Regions from separate parts of the Homo sapiens genome. Here region 1 is linked to region 2. Evidence: promoter capture Hi-C in human tissues and cell types (Jung and others, 2019). All regions are on one chromosome and are shown on one strand. Each heading gives the region's core, a stretch centred on a gene start or on the middle of the fragment in contact. The rest is flanking DNA. Distances are from core to core; before and after follow the strand shown. Region 1 overlaps DCAF8 (DDB1 and CUL4 associated factor 8). Region 2 holds the start of CASQ1 (calsequestrin 1).

Region 1 (2,700 bases), core at 156-2,655, 39 kb before region 2:
GTATACGATCTATGTGAATCCTGCCAATACCCACCAGTTTGCAGTGGGTGGACGAGATCAGTTTGTAAGGTGAGTTTGTGGCTCTTTTGTGTCTTTGACAGTTTGTAAGACTGATGCATTGTATACTACCAGGTGCTCCTTTATGGAGAGTTACGAATTTTATAGGAATCCATTAACTATTATCTTGAATTTTTTACCGTTTTCCAAAAATCTTACACGCCTTTGGAGATGTTCTGTTCTCTAATGTAACAGTCTCTGAGGGGTGACTTTACATATTTTAGAGATTATCAAGTTTTAAAGAAGTTAGATGATGGTCAGGTGTAGTGGCTCACACCTGTAATCTCGACACTTTGGGAGGTGAGGCGGGTGGATCACCTAAGGACAGGAGTTTGGGACCAGCCTGGCCAACATGGCAAAACTCTGTCTCTAAAAAAAAAAATACAAAAATTAGCCAGGCATGGTGGTACATGCGTGTAGTCCCAGCTGCTCAAGAGGCTGAGGCAGGAGGATCACTTGAGCTCAGGAGTCAGAGGTTGCAATGAGCCAAGATTGTGCCACTGCACTCCAGCCTGAATGACAGAGCGAGACTCTGTCTCAAAAAAGAAAAGAAAAGAAGTTAGATGAATTGACCAAGGTCCTCACGTGGCAGCTAAGCCATAAATTTAGGTTTACCAGCAAGTACTATATTAGTAAATAATCTACCTTTTTCGTATGTAAATAAACGTGCACTAGAAATTTTAAATACTGGTTTTCAATTCAGAAATAGTTTGACTTGGGAGCACTTAGTGTGAACTGAGGGTTTTTTGGCTCTCACTGTCCTGAGCTACCACTTTTTTTTATCCATAGTGATATCTTTGTTACCGTGAACACCTTTTGTTAACACTGGCTCTTGAGACATGACCTAAGGAAAACAGACACTGTGGATTCAGTCTCCATATGTATTAGTTAATTTCCTCTGACCCTTAGTAATAAGCTGTATCCATCCCTATCCAGTTGGCCTATTTTAACTATGTTTCTTTGGGCTCATCAGTTTGAAAGGAGAGAGAGGGGCAAGATCACTAGAAAAATGAGTGACTTTTTGCTTTCCTAATGGTAAGTGAAAAGCATCATCTTCCTTTTGAAATGAGAGCACATTTTATAGCTATATTTCCAGATTCATTTTATTAATAAGAATCATGGGGAATAGGGTAAATTTTTAGAAAATACATGAGATGACTTTGCCTTGTTCAAGAATCCTGGACAAAACCTTGTTTCTCTCTTCTTCCCCTATTCCCATGCCTTCAAAATTCGTTTCCTCTAGTCACCAACAGTCCTTAAATGTGTAGCCATAGATTTTTTTTTTTAGACAGAGTTTTACTCTTATTACCCATGCTGGAGTGCAGTGACACAATCTTGGCTCACTGCAACCTCCGCTTCCCGGGTTCAAGCGATTCTCCTGCCTCAGCCTCCCGAGTAGCTGGGATTACAGGTGCACGCCACCACGCCTGGCTAATTTTTTGTATTTTCAGTAGAACCGAGGTCTCACCGTGTTAGCCAGGCTAGTCTCGAACTCCTGACCTCAGGTGATCTGCCCGCCTTGGCCTCCCAAAGTGCTGGGATTGCAGGCATGAGCCACTGTGCCTGGCCAATTTTTTTTATTTTTAAATAAGAAGCTGTTGATCAAAAAGGGTTGTAGTTTGTATAGATTTTCAGTTGCTACCTCCTCCAAGTTGAGCATTCACTGAAATTTTGAGTTGAGAGTTCCTACTTAGAGCTCCAGATTACTTGAAAAGTCTGTGTCTCTAACAAATTCCACCACTAGGACCAAGATGTTTGGAGGGGAATGTAGTAGTTTGCTGTATTGAGAACTGTATTCATATGTATGTATGTATTCATATGTATTCATATGATATGTATATCATATTGCCTTAACCCAAAGCTGATACTTTCCCAGGGTTAGAGTAAGGCTTAGAGTTTTAGCATTTCAACACAAGGAGAAATACTCAAATCTTCTGTGTCTTATCAGCCTCAATATTCCTCTATTGGCTATTTACTGGGCAGAAGTTATGTGAAGATTTTTGTTTTTTTTTTGAGACAGAGTCTCACTTTGTTGCCCAGGCTGGAGTGTAGTGGCTCGATCTCGGCTCACTGCAACCTCTGCCTCCTGGGTTCAAGTGATTCTCATGCCTCAGCCTCCCAAGTAGCTGGGATTACAGGCATGTGCCACTTTGCCTGGCTATTTTTGTATTTTTAGTAGAGATACGGTTTTGCCATGTTGGCCAGGCTGGTCTCGAACTGTCTTCAAGTGATCCACCCACCTCGGCCTCTCAAAGTGCTGGGATTACAGTCGTGAGCCACCGCGCCTGGCTATGTGAAGATTTTGAGGCACGCTGATCCTACACAAGCAGGTAGCCCTTTCAGCACTCCAGCTCTTCTCTGACATTAGGTTACACTCAACTTCTCTGGCACCTCTCCTGTGCAGCCAACTGAATGTTTTGAGGTTTCTCCTTTCTTATTCTTCCTTTGAAAGAACCCAAACAGCTCATCTTCTGGTATAAATTTGAAAACATTTTTGCTGAATATTATATATCATAACATCATTAACTTTCACTCCTAGCCTAAAGGAATTACTTCAAGGGAATATAGAGAAATAGCTTACTGATCCTCAAGGCTTTTGCATCATTAATACTGAATTTTAGTTTAGGGTTATTAAAAAGTATT
Region 2 (2,700 bases), core at 59-2,558:
GTGTCTCACCCTGAAATGCTCCAAGCTCTGGACAAGCTGAGGCCAGAGAAGGGGCCACAGGAGCTTGGACAAGAAAACTCACATCCCATTTCCTAAAGGTGTGTGTGTATGAACACATTCCCAAACATAGGTTTTTTTTCTTTTCTTATGATAACTTCTTTCTCCTTTGGGCCTGAAGTCATTTTGGAGGTGAGGAGACTTTTCCCACAAAAAGAAGATTGGGGAAGACATTCTGACACCTCCTGCAACCATAAGAATTTTCCAGTGAGGGCATCCAGCTTATCCAATGGAGACAAATGGGGAATTAGGGAGGGGGAAGGAAGAGAGAGGGGACTGGGAGTCCAATGGGAGGCATGATCTCTAGGAGATATTTAAACATGGCATGCAAGTATCATAACATTTACATTTACACTCAGTTTGGATCTCTTTGGGGTGCAGCCCCTGAAGTATGTGGAGAGGACGTGTTCTGGCTAAGCAGATGGGTGGGGTAGGGGAGTGCAATATACACTGCTGTTCTCCCCTGGCCCTCCAAGTACCTCCCTTTTTCACCCTCAGTGTCCTAGCCAAACCTAAGTCAAATACTACCAGCCTCCTATAGCAGGGAGGGGAGCTCTTCCTGCAGCACCCCTGCTAAAGGTTTCCTGACGCTGATAGTACTTTTGGGTTCCTGAGACTCTGTTTCTCATTTGACTAAAGCCACATGCCACTTGCATCCTGTTGGTCAGGACAGGGTTCCTACCACACTGCCCCTCACCCCCAGATCCCATCCTCAAAGAGCTACATGGGTGTAGGATAGGGGATTCCGGAGAGGGGCTAGACATGCTCTGCAGGCCTGCAGTGCCCCCAACTCACCTCCAGGATCAGCTCCTCCATCTCAAATTGTCTTTGTGAGGCCTTGTCATCCTCGGGGGGTTCATGGTAGAGGAGTGCCAGCACCTCATACTTCTTGAACACATTCTTGTAGTTCTTTGCATTGACATTGATCACACGGTCCACACCATCGTACTCAGGGAAGTCCAGCCCTTCCTGCCCCTGTACCCCTGACTTGGGTGTCCCTAGCACCAGCAGCAACAGCAGTGCCAGCCGCAGACCCGGCACAGCTCTGGGCCCCATCCTGTCTGTAGCACTCATGGAGGTAGTGGGATCTGGGTTGGCTCTCCTGGTCCAGAAGAGGTTAGCTGGGGTAGGGAGGGGCCCCTGGGTCCCAGATTCTGAGTTAGGGGCTCAAGTGGGAGGGGGGATTGGGGAATGGCCCAGAGCAGTGGACAGAGGGCACTGCTGGGTCCTGGAGAAACTGCCGACAGAGCCAAGGGAAAAAGGGTCAGGTGGAGGAATAGGAGCAGGGGGCGGGGAGGGAACCGGAGCTGCCCCCTGAAATTGGCACCCCTCAGTCCCCACCTGGTCCTGTCTAAATATGTCTCCATGGTTGGCAGGAGAGACGGATAACCTTCTGAGGCCAGGACAGCTCCATGCGGGCCGGAATCCTCCCACCTCCTACACTTCTACCCCAGGCTCCCAGGGGCTCCTTCCCTCCCCCTCCTCCAGTGTCCAGGGCACCTCAGCCCCGGTCCCCACACTGGCCTAAGAGCTCATCGCCATATTAAGAAAGGAAAAGGAGAGATGCCGGAGCTAAAAATAAGACCAGATGAGTCGGAGGTAAATGAAGCTGGGGCTGGGGGAGGGGAGGTATAAGGGTAATTAGGGTGGGCCGAGGGTGGGGCAAGGGTAATTAGAAGTTAAATGCAGTGGAGAGGAGGAGCTAACTGGGTCAGAGGCTAAATTGATAATATAGGACAAAAGGGGGACAAATGTGGTATTGGCTCTATGTCCTAAAGCCTGGGAATCTTCTGTAGGTGAAGTCTGATTCTGATTCTTTGATACTATGTAGGAGAGTGGGGCGATAAAAGTGCAAGCCAGGCTGCAGGAAAGAGACCCCCTCCACTTTCTTTTAAAGAACCAGGACCAAGGATGAGGTCATTCTCTGAATAAAAGATGGAGCCGCGTCCAAGACTGGCAACCTGGCTCAGCTCCAGCCAGTTTCCTTTGCTTCACTCAGCACTCCTAACTTGGGAATGCAGGGAAGGACAGGGCTGGCCCAGATCCTGTCCTGTAGAGATGTGGGTTTGGGGTTTCTCTGCCTATAAAGCCCACAATGAGAAGGGGTCTGTCCTTTGGTTGCCACCTGTGTGTGCACTCCCTACCCTGATCCTATGGGACTCGGTTTTCTGGGGCACAGTGGGAAGGGAGGTTTTCCCAGGCTGCATGCTTCCAAGGAGAGTGAATAGCTACTATTTATTCCCATGTCTTTGACAAGACAAAGAGGATCAGGTATTGACACCAGGGCAAAAAAAAATTAACATTAGGCAAGCATGAAGAGGTGAACCCTGTGCCCTGAACCAAGACTGATGATTAATTCTGTGCACCCGAGATCCAAAGCAGAGATGGGCGGGTAGGGGCTTAAACTTCTGGATCCAGCTTGGGGGGTGAGGACAGAGTAGTGAGTTTAACTCTGGATACGTAGGAAGGAAGGATCCTCTTCATGGCCCTCCAGGGTTCTTACTATGCACAGGTAAACTGAGGCATGAGGGAGACCATAGAGGGTCAGATCAAAGTCACATGCTGCCACTGCACCCTGAGGTATCTCTGATTCTAGAGGGACAGTGGTGTTTTTTTTGTTTTGTTTTGCATCCAGGGAGGGTC

Evidence for each region. Contacts are between HindIII fragments. The study calls those that stand out against the background at their distance.
Region 1: a fragment that was not itself captured here is called in contact with the fragment with the promoter of CASQ1 in region 2 in 3 of the 25 tissues and cell types used here (adrenal gland, aorta and hippocampus).

What each region holds. Positions count from the first base shown.
Region 1 is chr1:160,228,666-160,231,365 of GRCh38, reverse strand. It overlaps DCAF8 (DDB1 and CUL4 associated factor 8), which reads left to right. Exons shown (of 14, transcript NM_015726.4): 7 at 1-69. Among named protein-coding and RNA genes, the nearest start is that of PEA15-AS1, 21 kb to the right of the region's middle. The HindIII fragment of the contact is 7,705 bases long and covers 1-2,700 here.
Region 2 is chr1:160,189,183-160,191,882 of GRCh38, reverse strand. CASQ1 (calsequestrin 1) reads right to left here and starts at 1,308. Exons shown (of 11, transcript NM_001231.5): 1 at 853-1,308. The coding sequence starts at 1,131. The HindIII fragment of the contact is 26,832 bases long and covers 1-2,700 here.